5 separate regions of the Homo sapiens genome follow, and regions 1, 3, 4 and 5 are each linked to region 2. The links are contacts of gene promoters, found by promoter capture Hi-C in human tissues and cell types (Jung and others, 2019). All regions are on one chromosome and are shown on one strand. Each heading gives the region's core, a stretch centred on a gene start or on the middle of the fragment in contact. The rest is flanking DNA. Distances are from core to core; before and after follow the strand shown. Region 1 overlaps SDK1 (sidekick cell adhesion molecule 1). Region 2 holds the start of SDK1 (sidekick cell adhesion molecule 1). Region 3 overlaps GNA12 (G protein subunit alpha 12). Region 4 overlaps SDK1 (sidekick cell adhesion molecule 1). Region 5 holds the start of LOC124901576 (a long non-coding RNA gene).

What was found. The method cuts DNA at HindIII sites, captures the fragments that hold promoters and counts their contacts. A contact is called where the count stands out against the background at its distance.
Region 1: a fragment that was not itself captured here is called in contact with the fragment with the promoter of SDK1 in region 2 in 1 of the 25 tissues and cell types used here (dorsolateral prefrontal cortex).
Region 3: a fragment that was not itself captured here is called in contact with the fragment with the promoter of SDK1 in region 2 in 1 of the 25 tissues and cell types used here (dorsolateral prefrontal cortex).
Region 4: a contact is called between a fragment that was not itself captured here and the fragment with the promoter of SDK1 in region 2, in 5 of the 25 tissues and cell types used here (dorsolateral prefrontal cortex, heart right ventricle, hippocampus and 2 more).
Region 5: a fragment that was not itself captured here is called in contact with the fragment with the promoter of SDK1 in region 2 in 1 of the 25 tissues and cell types used here (dorsolateral prefrontal cortex).

The regions. Positions count from the first base shown.
Region 1 is chr7:4,182,971-4,185,670 of GRCh38, reverse strand. The region is part of intron 35 of SDK1 (sidekick cell adhesion molecule 1); the gene reads right to left. Among named protein-coding and RNA genes, the nearest start is that of FOXK1, 500 kb to the left of the region's middle. The HindIII fragment of the contact is 3,667 bases long and covers 1-2,700 here.
Region 2 is chr7:3,299,947-3,302,646 of GRCh38, reverse strand. It overlaps SDK1 (sidekick cell adhesion molecule 1), which reads right to left and starts at 1,395. Exons shown (of 45, transcript NM_152744.4): 1 at 763-1,395. The coding sequence starts at 1,060. It overlaps SDK1-AS1 (SDK1 antisense RNA 1), which reads left to right. Exons shown (of 3, transcript XR_001744897.3): 1 at 1-418. RefSeq lists enhancers at 594-1,094, 1,804-2,315, 2,316-2,700 and a silencer at 1,369-1,918. The HindIII fragment of the contact is 11,292 bases long and covers 1-2,700 here.
Region 3 is chr7:2,727,614-2,730,313 of GRCh38, reverse strand. GNA12 (G protein subunit alpha 12) reads left to right here. Exons shown (of 4, transcript NM_007353.3): 4 at 1-2,209. It also overlaps a transcript of AMZ1 not described here. Among named protein-coding and RNA genes, the nearest start is that of AMZ1, 41 kb to the right of the region's middle. The HindIII fragment of the contact is 4,731 bases long and covers 1-2,700 here.
Region 4 is chr7:4,007,600-4,010,299 of GRCh38, reverse strand. The region is part of intron 14 of SDK1 (sidekick cell adhesion molecule 1); the gene reads right to left. Among named protein-coding and RNA genes, the nearest start is that of SDK1-AS1, 660 kb to the right of the region's middle. The HindIII fragment of the contact is 5,333 bases long and covers 1-2,700 here.
Region 5 is chr7:3,951,271-3,953,970 of GRCh38, reverse strand. SDK1 (sidekick cell adhesion molecule 1) reads right to left here. Exons shown (of 45, transcript NM_152744.4): 7 at 2,051-2,241. It overlaps LOC124901576 (a long non-coding RNA gene), which reads right to left and starts at 2,036. Exons shown (of 2, transcript XR_007060195.1): 1 at 1,933-2,036. The HindIII fragment of the contact is 3,750 bases long and covers 1-2,700 here.

The DNA of each region.
Region 1 (2,700 bases), core at 132-2,631, 880 kb before region 2:
TGTTCTGGAGCAGAGGAAGAAACAGCTAATCCTGCCCGGGAAAGAGAAGACAGCTGCCCCATCCAAGGGCTCGCGTGGATGCAGGGCTGCATGGGAGGGAGGACTGTCTGTCCTCCCAGGGACGGGAGTAGGGAGCAGTCATCCCAGGCGGAAACAGCTTGGTATGGATGAGGGGGCACATACTCAAGGAGGGGGAAGCCTGGGGGCTCTGGAAATACAGGCAGGGGCTGAGATGCCTGCTTGGGGTCTGGGCAGGAGTGCAGGCTTAACCTGAGACCAGGGCCCATCCATGAATAGTGAGTGTCTTGAAGGCTGGAGCGTGGTCCCACAGTGCCCGGAACGCTGTGGAATGTGGAGCTGGGCCCAGAACTCTGGCTGGGTCATCTGAAGAGCTCTCCTGCTGAGGAACCCATAGACACTGTCCATACCTCCACCAGAAAAATTTCTGGCCACCTAGTCAAACTCTGCCTATCAGCACTGCAGGACAGCTGTGGTGGTGAATGCCCGAGTCCCCTTCTTCTGACTGTCGCACTGGATCTCCTCTAGGGACCCTCTCGCTTCACAGTTGGCCCAGGTGGTCCAGGTAGAGATGACATCTCCCTGGCTTTGGGCACCTCAGGACGTTGGCTGCAGCAACTAGTTTGGGGACAGATATGCAACTAAAGGCAGGCTGAAGACAGCCAGTGGACTTCCACTGCAGAAAAGGGAAGCTCTCTGTGCCCAGGGCTGTATGGCCACCTTGATGAAGAGCCTGACCAAGGAAGGAGCCAACTAGGAGGAAAGTGGATCCAAGAGGCCACATGGAGCAGCTTGCTGGGGCGCTGGATCCAGCCATGCCTGAAGCTGTCCCAGGCTCTGCAACTCTTCCAGTGCAGGAGTTAATAATGATTCTTTCAGCTTAAGCTTGTTGGCGTTGGGTCCTACCTCCTGCACACTGGAGTCCTTACCGATGGATTATTTTTACCAATTTGTAGTGCCTGGGCTTGTGCATCAATCTCAGCTAAAAATCTAAAAATTATCCTTCCTCTCTGAGTTTAAACAGATTTAAGTATCACGTATTTGAACTTCAGGGGACCCAGAGATCATCTATTCTGAACATTTCATCATTTTACAGATGAGGCCAGACAAACCGACTCACTCACCCAGGGTCCCCCTCATTCACCAAATACTGACTGGGGGCTGACCCCGGGCCAGGTACATTCTGGACACTCATCTTATGAGCAGGACTGGTGCCTTAGTGGCAGCAATGAAGCCAGTACCTGAGTCTCCTCACTCACAGGTCTCCCCACAGCAGCACAAGGTCTCAAGGCCAGACTCAGAGGGGTTAAGTGACTTGCCCGTGGTCACACAGGCAGTAAACAGTAGAGCCGACGCTTGGACCTGCACGCTTACCTATGGGACCACAGCAAAGTCTTAGTTTTCATAAAAGCCTTTGAGCATTTCGGGCCCACGAGTTTGTGGTGCTCTGAAGCTTCCAGCCGAGGGGACGGAAGCTGGCCCAATTTAATTTCCTCTTCTGAAGGCCTACTTGCTCTAAGTCAATACGTTAGCAGTGCCTCTCCTCAGCAGATTAGGGTTGTTACAATGCAGGTACTTGGGCTGCGAGAAGCAGAGGCTAGAAAGGGAATGGCGAACTGGCTTTCTCCTTCCAGAAAACTCTCTGCAGTGTAAACACAGAACCCGGAGGAGTGTGCTGAGGCCAAACAACTGAGATGTCCACTTGCAGGGTTGGCACTGCCAGGCCTGGCACAGGAGATGTGTGAGTTGTTTTGGGTGTGCAAGAGCCAAGCCACATCTGATGGGTGGGGTGGAGCAGAGACCTGGATGCAGGGGCCGTGTCTAGGAATTTACTTTTTAGTTTAACTTAGAGCAAGGCTGATAATGGTCCTTCCCTAAAGCCAATCCCCCTCCTCGTTTGGGGGTGGAAACTGCCTTTGTAAAGCTAATAAAAGGCTGAGAGATTAGGAGTATGGGAGAAGCCTGAACTCGGCTAAAATATAAGCATACTTTCTTTTTTTTTTTTTTTTTTTGAGACGGAGTCTTGCTCTGTAGCCCAGGCTGGAGTGCAGTGGTGCGATTTTGGCTTACTGCAACCTCTGCCTCCCGGGTTCCGGTTCAAGCGATTCTCCTGCCTCCGCCTCCCGAGTAGCTGGGGTTACAGGCATGCACCACCATGCCCAGCTAATTTTTTGTATTTTTAGTAGAGATGGGGTTTCACCATGTTGGCCAGGCTGGTCTTGAACTCCTGACTTCGCGATCCACCCACCTCAGCCTCCCAAAGTGCTGGGATGACAGGCATGAACCACCGCACCCAGCCTGTAAGCTGGGTAAGTAATCCCTCACTGCTCAGGAGGCATGTGACCAGAGGTCACAAAATTAGTGACTTTCCCAGTTGCTTCTAAAGATAACATCACTATTATAGAAACTACAATTGATCTTTTGAGATGCTTTTCAGACTTTTGCATTCTGAAAATGGACTGACCCCATCTGGACTCATGACTCACGACTCACGGCTTAGGGGGTCCTGTGGCCCCGCTCAGAGGTGGACTCAGCACATGAGGACCGTTTTCCACGCCCCGTGATGGCATCCCCAGCCAATCAGCAGCACCCACTCCCTAGCCCCCACGCCCACCAAACTATCCTGGAAAAAACTAACCTCTGAGCCCTCAGGGAGACTGACCAGTGATAACTCCAGTTCCC
Region 2 (2,700 bases), core at 146-2,645:
TACGTTACGGGTTTTGTCGGGGGCGGGGAGGGGGTGGAGGGAAGCCCAGATTTGGGAAGGAAAGCTCGTTTCACAAGAGATCCCATCTCTCGTTTCAAAAGGTCATTTCCATTCAGCAGATCCTCTTTCCCTATTTCAGAGCTCACCACTGTATTCTAAACAGAAGCCAATAGAGGGAGAAAAACAAAGCCAAGTGCAAAAGCTGTGGGCACTGAAAGTTTTGCTCCACCGGCCGCGCAGCACCCACTTGGGGTCGGGCTTTGGGACTTGGGGGAGTCAGGAGCAGGCGGGGGCTGGGGAGAGGACGAGGCCCTGGGGAGGGGCTGGAAAAGGCTTTTCACAGCGACTGGCACTTGATATTTCCAAGTCTTCTGGATGTCACTCACCGGAAACCAGACCCTGCGGTGCGAAGACTCAGGTACAGACCAGCCCCTTTTTCATCCATGCAATGGGAAGGGGACTCGGGCATCCTTTTAAGGAGCTGAGAAATGGGTCCTCAACTTAAAAATTTTTGTTTGTGCTACTGCGGTATAAAAAAAATAAAACGCAAAGTAGCAGACGGGGTGCAGGCTCTACGGGGCTCCGTTTCCCTCTCCTCCGAGTCTGGCGTGGAGGAGCCCCTGGGCTCCCTAGAGCCCCCAGCAAGGCGCATCCCGACCCGGGCCGGGAAGCGGGGGGACCCCGGACACACTCTCGCTGCTCAAGTTCGCGCCTCCGCGCCCCGAGGCGACGCCCCCGGCCCGCGACCCCGCGCGCACCTACCTTGCGCCAGCGCCCGGAGCAAGTGCAGCTGCAGCGCCAGCAGCGCCCACCAGCCGCGGCGGCCCGGCCCCAACTTTGCCGCCCGCCGCCCGCCGCACCGCCCCGCGCCCGCCGTGTCCCCGCCGGAGGTCTCGGGCGCCGCCCGGGGTCGCGAGGGCTCCGGGCCGGGGCGCGGCGCCAGCGAGGGGCGGGCGCGGCCGGGCGGGGATCCCCGCGGCCGCCCGGGGCCCGCGCGCTCAGGGGGCTCCGCGCCGCCGCCGCCGCCACCGGCCGCCGAGGGCCGGGCGCCCCGGGCCATGCCGAGCAGCCGCCACCCCGAGCGCCGCGCCGGACGGACGGGCGGGCAGGACAGGCGGGACGGCTCCGAGCGGGCGCGGCCACTCCGCGGGAGGCGCGGCGCCCCCCGGCCCGAGGTGAGCGGCCGCCCAGCGCTGAGGGGCGGCGTCCTGGGTCCCCGCGTGAGGGGCGCGGCGCGGGCCGGGGACGAGCCGGGCGAGAAGAAGTTGTCAACGGGGGAAATTCGCGTCCGGCGCTCACGCAGTCCCGAGCCCGCCGCGCTAGCTCCGAGGGGTCCGCCGGGCGCGGAGGAGCCGCCGCCGCCGCCGCCCCCGCCCGGCGCTGAGAAGAAAGTGCGCCCGCCCGCACGTCGCGGTCGCGCTCGCCCTCAGCTGCCGCGGCCGCCGCTCCCCATTCACAGCCCGGCCGCACGCGCCGCCCGCGCCCGCCGCCCGCCGCCCGCCGTTGATTGGCCGAGGGAGGCGGCGCCCGCTCCCAGGGCCCGCCCCCCAGGCCCTCGCTTGTTTTCAAAGTCGCGGCGCCCGCCCGCCTGCAATTTTGTGCCGGCCGCGGCGCCTGGCTCGGGCGGCTTCCCGCGCCGGCTGCGCCCCCTAGGGACCCGTAGTGGGGACTGCAGGCGGCGTCGATTCGGCACGCGCTCCCGTGGCGGGCTCGCGGGCGGGGGTGGTGCATCCTCGCCCGGCCCCGCAGCGGTGCGGGCGCCCGAGTGGGAAGGGCTCAGGTGCAGCAGGACGCGCAGATCGTGCGGCAGCCCAGGGCCGAGGGCGGAATAGGGCGCGCCCCGAGAGGCGCCCGGCTACCACCAGCTAGCTCAGTGCTTGGGGGTGACGCGCCAAGTTACCGTAATTGCAAACACGCGCAATCGGGTTTTTAATTTCTAGCAACCAAAGGCACCACTGGGTGCAAACTCGCCTCCTGTTCAGAGGAGTGGATATGGCATTGTAGAAGCGTCCAAGGTCACTTTTGGCCGGCGCTGGAGGAGGGCGGGGTAGGGAGGGACACATTGCAGGTTTCCCACCGTGGAGTGGGCGAGTCTTGGGGCAGGGTCGGCCAGTGGGAGGGTCTCCCAGGGCGGGACCCGGGAGCCTGTGGGGCTGGGGGTGGGGACGGGCGCCGACGCTCAGCATGTGGTAAGCATTAGCAGAGTTTATGGGGTGAACTAAGCGCACTGGAGGCTGAAAGGCCAGCATTTTTGTGGGAGGAGAGCTGGAGGTGACACGCACTGCCTCTGGAGTTGGCCCGGGAGGAGCCTGGGGACGTGTGATGATGGTCGCATGAGATCATGTAAGAGATGAACGCAGAGGGGCTGGGTGTGAGCCCAGCACGGGGCTGACTCCCCAGGAATCACCTGATGCAGTAGGTTTATTGTCCCAGCCAAGAAAGACCCCGGGCGAGTGGAGAGCAGGTCACAGGGCTGGGGTCTGGGATAGGAGCCAGCTCCTGCTCACAGAGCGCCTATGGTATTTGTCAAATAACTGATTGGTGGCTCAATATTAGCCTCTGTACACGTCCCCTAAGACTTAACAATGACCACGTGAACAAAACAGGGAAACTGAGGTCCAAGTACAGCCGCCGAACAGGAGGTGGTTTCAGAAAGAGGCCTCCCATCTGCCCCCTTTCCACACCATGCTAGGAGGGGCA
Region 3 (2,700 bases), core at 16-2,515, 570 kb after region 2:
ACACAGAAACCAGGTCCCCTTGCAGACGGCTCTCCCATCTTCCTGCAAGTCATCTGCTCACACACAGTTGGCAGCACATAGCGTTTCCTTCTTTCAGAAACATTCCTCTTCTGGGGCTTCAGAAAGCTGGCAAGGCCACTAGCAGAGCTTTTGTTAATGCCCCAGCTGCTTGGCGAGCTAACAGCTGACCTTTCGGGAAGCCCACAGACGCTGGAGGAATCTTGAGTTTCTCCAAACTGCCGCTCCACCAGTGCCTTTGGACAGCCGTGCCTGTTCGCCGCTCTCCCTAAGTCTGATTCTCATCGAGGCCCCTCGCTTCTATGACTGTGCTTGCAGAAGAGTAAACACTCTCGGATGCCGCTGTCCTGGGGGAGCCCGCGGGAGCCTGTGAATGTTGATACGAGCTGGCCAGTCCTGGGCCCAGCTCACTTGTCCAGCTACCTGCCAGGTGGCTTTCACTGTGTTTAAAATACATTGCATTCCAAGCTGGTCCCCTCTGTGTATCACTCTACTGAGAAATCCTGCCTAGTGTGTTTTGGGATGTGTCCTAGCATTTACAAGAAAATGAAAAGCGTCCTCTTAATTGGCACCCGAATGTTGCTGTGGCTCAGTCACATATCCCAGGGCCCTCGTCCCGAGGCCGTGCTGCCCCGAGCCCCGAGCCCCTCTGCAGCTCACCCTTGGCTTGTTTTCCGCAAACCCGGTAAACGCAAGCCCTTGGGGCAGATGCAGAAGCAGAAGAGGGAGGGGAAACCTGCCTCTGGGTCACCCTGTTAGCACAGCGTTCTCATCGGGAGACAGCATGGAACTCTCTCTCGCAGTGCTCGAGGCTGTGTGTCAGTGTTTGCTGGGCTTGTGGCTCCTTTTTTGGCTGGATAAAGAAGTCGCTGTTTTTGTACTGCTTCTGTGGCTCTTCACAGACCTCACGGATGTGACCGGAGATGAGTGCCGATGACCACGTTTTAAAGGAGAAAGAGAGCTCCTGGTGGGGCCCTCGGGGTGGTCTCAGGTCCCATTTGCAGTCTGCAACAGTGACGCGCAGCCCGGTCCGGAGCGTGGTGAGCTTTGTTTGCCTTCTGGGTCAGCTTTCGCTGTGTCTCCTGTGTGTGTTAGAATCCAGAGCCCAGAGGAAGTGCAAGCGGGTCCTCCGCCAACGGGGAGAGCCTCTTCGCGGCGCTGTTGGCGACAGCAGCGCTGTGATTCGCGTAGCAGGGGAGTTGTTTGAAACACCTTCCTGAGTAGTCCGGCCTTGTCAATGAGTGCTTGTTTTCCTTTAAACAGTCTGACATATTTACTCGTCACTTTCAAACCAGAAGCATGAGAGGAAGGAGATATTGTGGGGTCCGTTTAACTCGATAGAAAGCGCAGGGGGATGGCCCCCGGCGCGGGCTCTTGACCCGCTCAGCGCTGACCCCACCGCCCTGGCCGAGGCACTTGGCCTTGCTGAGCTGGACTTCCTCCTCCTCCTCCTCATGACCGGGGTGAATTAGAACGTTTTTAAAGACACCCCCTTCCAAATTCTGTAACACATTGTAATTGGAGAAGAAGGAAACTCTGCAAGGCTAAACTGTCATTCACAACTTGGCTACACATAGACTCTAGTCAGTTTTGTCTCCAGAACCTTAGGCTTTTGTATTTTTTAATTTTAATTTCACTGTTAATCCTTATTGTCTTTTTTATTAAGATGTTGGAAAAGCAGGAGGTAGTTGTGCCTCAATTATTGCAAAAATGTAACAATAAAGTTCCTCAAAATAAGATCTGTTCCTCATAGCTATACTGTGTACACATAAGACGCATATAGGGTTTTACTGAAATCTATTTTTAACTCTTATGTTCGTAGAGAAATTGTTTCAAGGATTTTGAGTCATAGGTCTGTAATTTATAGAGATCTCTAGAATTCTTATTGTAATTTTCCTACTTCTTTGATAAAAGAAAAATAAGTCAGATTGTTAACTCCAAGATTGAAAAAAAAAACTCTTGAAAGAAGATTATTAGTTGTAACTAATTTAGGGGTTCTGGGCACAGACATCTAACCTGGTATTGTAAGGCAGAGGCTCCCATTGGAATGGTAGTGGTCCGGGTCAGTTGTTCATGGTGTAAGCTTTGCACAGTGTATTAACATTGGGAGGGTCTGGCTTGAAAATTTGGCCACCCTCAGCCTCTGAATGTTTATTAAAATAAATTTAGTCTTTCTTTGCTTAATATAAAATAGTGCCAGTATTCAAAACCAACACTAAATTGATTTTTCATTCCCCAGGATTCACAGCAGATCACTCTCATCCTAATTTTTTTTTTTTTTTTTTTTTTGAGACAGAGTCTCCCTCCACCTCGTGGGTTCAAACGATTCTTCAGCCTCAGCCTCTCAAGTAGCTGGGTCTACAGGCGCCCGCCACCACACCCAGCTAATTTTTTGTATTTTTAGTAGAGACAGGGTTTCACCATGTTGGCCAGGGTGGTCTCTATCTCCTGACCTCGTGATCGGCCCACCTCAGCCTCCCACAGCCTCCCACAGTGCTGGGATTACAGGCATGAGCCACCACACCCAGCTCTAATCCTAATGTTATTTGAAGGTGGTTTATTATTTATTCATCACAGTTTTTATTTCCACATACCAAACAAAGCCTGGCATGTAGGAGAACCATTGTAAATAATACAGGTGTGGCTCACACCTATAATCCCAGCACTTTGGGAGGCCAAGGT
Region 4 (2,700 bases), core at 24-2,523, 710 kb before region 2:
CCCTTGCGTGGATTTTTTGCAGAGTTTAAACAGGCTTTTCAGCCCAGTCATTTTGTAGACTGATGCCCTGGAATGAACAAAGTCTTGGCAGTGACTTCCAGCATCCGCTGTCGGTTCCCATTCTGAATTGTGATGATGCCTGAACTGAATTTTCAAGTTACTAGCGAAGTAAAACCTGGGTGGGGGAAATTCTTCTGGAAATCGAGCTGTCTCGCTGACCTGAAGTGGCGCTAAGGTCCCTTTCACCCACATTAGAGATGGTCAGAAAGAGGTGGCACATGCTTTCCACCATAGTGTTGGGCTAGGCAGAGCCTGCAGACAGTACCAGCTGCGTGTCAGCATCCACACATAAAATCCCAGCCGCTTCTCCAAAAACCTGCAGCCCCAACCGCGGGGATTCGTAAGTCTGCGCCTGCGAGCTCATTGGAAATGCACTCCAGCTCCTTACCAATCACCAAGCAGTGGCCATAAATTGCTCCAAAATGAAAATGAGACTCTCAAAGGAAACTTCTGTTGCCTCACACAGAGGTGTCTATCACTAATTCAGAATCTGCTCACTGGATTCCTTAACACAAAGTTAAGCTGCTCTGAAGCATGAAGCCAGTTGGCGATGAAGATGGGATCTTTTTAATTATTTCAAATCAAGCTGCTTCCAAAAATGGCTTTCTGGGAACGCAGTCTTCGCCACCAGCTGGGCATTTCAGCGTTCTTGGCTTTTGATTTCCAGTGACATGGATAATGGGCAGCTGATGAGGATCCCCCTCTCTGTGTGTCTCCTTTAAAAACAAAATGTGCGCATTCCCAGTTACCTACAGAAGAACTCACAGCAACTTCCCTTTTTACTCTGGGAGCCTAAAACCCTTCCACTTGTATCATGCAGCTCATGGTGATCTGGTTTGCTAAGCAGTCTCCCTTACAGAAAACAGCCATTTGTCAATGCAGAAGACGAAAGGCCATTCCCAGTATCAGGGCAACCAGACTCGGTTGGTAGAAGGCAGGGCCCCTTCGTGCCAAGTCCAGCTTCCATGGAAATACCGTTCTCATTCTGAAGAGAACTGGTATGTAGAAGAAAGAAGCATGGAGACCACAGCTGACTACGAGCTCTCCCACTTAAGGGTGTTCAGTTTTGTTTGAACTTCCGTGAAAACAGTGGACAAAACAGAACCACAATGATATTGCATCTAATACCCACTAGGGTGGCTATTATGAAAAGAAAACACATACACACAAACAGAAAATAACAGGTGTTGGGAAGGATGTGAAGAAATTCCGCCCCATTTCGCGGTTGTTCTGAATATAAAATGGTATAGCCGCTACAGACAACAGTATGGTGGCTCTTCAAAAAATTAAGACAGAATTACCATAGAATCCAGCAATTCTGCTTCTCAGTATACACTCAAAGGAACAGAAAGGAGGGGTTCGAAGAGATATGTGCATACCTGGGTTCAAAGCAGCTTTATTCACAGTAGCCAAAAGGTAGAAGCAACCTGAGGGATATGATGAGGTTTCTCTTCAAAGAACCCAATCAATCTTTTATTCTTTAATTTATAGTACCCTTCCCCCTGCTGCCCTTTCCCTTTTTTTCCTTTTTGCCTTTGTTAGATGCCCAGGCATGCCACAGTACCAGGCATTATCAGTAGCAGCTCACATTCCTTCCTTTATTTGGAAAGAGGACTAACTTTCTAGTTCATTACAGAACACCCCTTCCCCTTTCCTCTTCGCTTTCTTTTACGTGCCCACCTTATCTAAAAAAAATCAAAGGTTCAGCCAACCGGGATTAGTTTAGATTGTATGACCCGACCCCGGCCAATGGGGAAAGGGTACAGGGGCAGGACTTGCGTCAGGAATAAAGGCTCTCGTGCCCCTTTGTTCAGGTGTGCTGTCATGGCGACTGGCCAAGGAGGCACCCCTCTGCGCAGAAGTAAAATTGCTTTGCTAAGAATCTTTTGTTCGTGTGTTCACTTTCCTTAGGATTTTGAGCGTTATTCCTAACAAACCCAACTGCCCACCGATGGATGAATGGGTAAACAAATACGATCTGTCCATACAATGTCTACTATTCAGCTTCTTAAAGGAAGGAAATTAGGACACATGGCGGAACATGGATGAACCTTGAGGACAGTATACTACATGAAATAAGTCACAAAAAGACAAATACTGTATGATTCCACTTGCATGAGACATCTAGAACAAATTCACAGAGACAGAAAGTAGGAGGAGCAGGGGAAAGGGCAACGGGGAGCGACTGTTTAGTGGTGCAGAAGTTTTGCAACATGAAAAGAGCTCTAGAGAAGGATGGTGGTGACGGTGGCAGAACAGTGTGAATGTGTTTAATGCCACTGAGCCGTGCACTTACAAATGGTGAACATGATGGATTTTTTATGTGTGTTTCACTACCATTAAAGATTAAAACAATGCCTGTAATCCCTGCACTTTTGGAGGCTGAGGCAGGTGGATCACGAGGTCAGGAGTTCAAGACCAGCCTGGCCAAGACGGTGAAACCCCGCCTCTACTAAAAATACAAAAAAATTAGCCGGGCGTGGTGGCAGGTGCCTGTAATCGCAGCTACTCAGGAGGCTGAGACAGAGAATTGCTGAAACCCGGGAGGCGGAGGTTGTAGGGAGTCGAGACCGCGCCACTGGACTCCAGCCTGGGCGACAGAGCAAGACTCTGTCTCAAAAAACAAATTAAAGGAAATAA
Region 5 (2,700 bases), core at 155-2,654, 650 kb before region 2:
CTCGGCCACAGGGCGTGGGATTATAATCTCATCCAAATCCCTCGGAATTGACACAGACACTCTCTTCAGGGTTTTTGCAGTGTGCGCCAACCACAAAAATCCTACCTGCTACAGCAAATTCTTATGAATAAAAGGGGATTTAACTCAACATCATAAAGAAGTGAAGTGTGTTTGTGTACCTTTAAAAGTCAGAACACGGAGAGGTGCTAACTCGAGAGAACACAAAACTAATCAGATATAAATGTAAAACTAAAGCTCTTAAGATAGATTTAAATATTTTAAAAAGGAATGATGATCGAAACAAACATTCTCGTTTAAAGGGAGATAAATTTCTTCTCTTGTTTAAATTACCTTAAAATGTTTGAACACGGTATAGTCCTGTCTACTAGAGATTTACACGTCGCAAATTTTAATTTTGGCTGAATCTATAATGTGCTGTGCTCCTAGAACTACAGATCAACCTCGATGAAAAAATCTTTGCAGAGAATGGGATGTGATATTTACATCTGTAGCGGAAGCATGGATGGGGAAGGTAGCAATACCAGCTCAGGCCTCTCATGTAGAATCAACAGTGATTGGTGACTCAAAGCCGGCTTCCTTGGATGCTTTTAACAGACTTTCGCTTCTTTCAGAGGGACCGACAGGTTTGCACTGCATTGTATTTAGAAGAGTCAAGGTCAGGACATGGAGTCATTTCCTAATGATTAAAGGAATGGGACGTGATCAAGGTAAACCACCTTTTGTGCAGTATTCCTTTTCTTGCTAGTTTCATAGGAAAACACAAGCTTTTTTTTTTTTTTCCTTATTTTGCAAAGTGGCAGACTGCAAATTTTTTTATTTAAGGGGCTCTCTGAGGGTTTTCTTATTTGAATTTTCCTGTTCTCAATTCCCCTTTTTCCCAAAGAGGAGAGAGGAAGTCGAGATTCTCCTTCCTAGAGGCGGCCTCTAAGGCTACCTCTTATCAACAGCGGCTACCACTGCGGAACACAGGCTGCTCTCATAGTCATCACGGCCACTTATGAAGAATAAATGCATGACAGTAGCTGGAAAAATGAGAGAAATAAAGTCACTTGCCTCACAACTTAACCTCCTCATAAACTGATAATAGGTTTTGTATTTTCTTAGCCACTGTACAATGCACACTCCCTAAACACTAATAGTTTCCAGCATTTAGAGCTGGGCAACTCCAGTGTACTTAATTTTATGTTCTTTCTCCTTGGTTCAGGAATAATATGTCGCCCAGTTTGAGGAAGCATCTCTGTTCTCTTTTTTTTTTTAAGTTTAACAAAAGGTAACATCCGATAGTTTTACATTTTCTGCTAGGTCAAAAAATAACAGCTAAATTAATAATTAATAGAATAATTTCTAAATTAATAATTTTTTTTTTGAGTTGGAGTTTTGCTCCTGTGGCCCAGATTGGGTTGCAATGATGCGATCTTGGCTCACTGCAACCTCTGCCTCCTGGGTTCAAGTGATTCTCGTGCCTCCGCCTCCCGAGTGGCTGGGATCATAGGCGCCCGCCACTGCGCCCAGCTGATGTTTGTATTTTTAGTAGAGACGGGCGGGATTTCACCATGTTGGCCAGGCTGGTCTCGAACTCCTGGCCTCAAGTGATCCGCCCACCTTGGCCTCCCAAAGTGCTGGGATTACAGGCATAAGCCACCATGCCTGGACAGCAATAATAGAATAGTTTCTGAACACCGATCACGATAGCCAAATAAGAGTTACAGAAAAGCTTAGCAGCCTAAAGCTAGAATAGGAGAGGGATCTATATGACAGGGGTTTCACCGCTCTATTTCCCGAGCTTTGTGACTGGAGTATTCAGAAGGACGTTTCTTGGAAGGATTGAGAACATCAACACTTTGGATTTAATGGACTTATATTCTTGGGAAAGAAGGCTAGGAAGGATTTCGAAGGTAAACTCAACCTCACCTTCATTTGCCGAGTTACAAATAAAGCCACTGAAATACGCTATTTTGTTTCTGCAGAAGAGTCAGTGTCGGATGCTATCTGAGATGCTGGCAACACCACTTAGAGGCTCCCGCATTACCTATGATGAAAAGAAAGGCCGTCGCCCTGGCCGGTTCAAAAGCGCTCCCCGGCAGCGCCGCCTCGCAGACGTATGGCCCGGTGTCCGCGGACGTCGGGTTGCTGATGGTGAGGCGTCTTCCAAAGCTGTGGAGGCCACTGGTGATTCTCACTCCATTCCTCTTCCAGGTCACACTCAGGTCCTCCACAGGCCTGTGGGAATGAAAGGCATTCATGACGACGATTGTGACTCAGGGAGGTGGCAACGGTCATCATCTCAGGCACTCGGCACAGGCTTGACGAAGCTAATGCTACCAGGGTGCATGGTGGGTTGAACAACGGACACTGAAAACTCAATCTAGATGTAACTCTACTCCCTCCCAGCACGCATTGACGATGCATTCTGCTCAAGGGCTATTAAGCAAGGATATCTAATTGCCGCAGCAATGGACCATAAGTGCTAATGATCCCATTTGCTCAGGAAATGAATGTTTAAAATAAATACTGTGAGGGGACACAACGACATGGAAGGCGGGATCATCCGAGCTTGATTCTGGAGCGACCGCTAAGTAGGCAGAGAACACCTTGGCTGACTAAGAGGAGAAGAGCAATGAACTTTTTCCTCTGCCTCAACTCCTCTCTCTTCCCTAGAGAGGATCTCAGAGGAGCCCC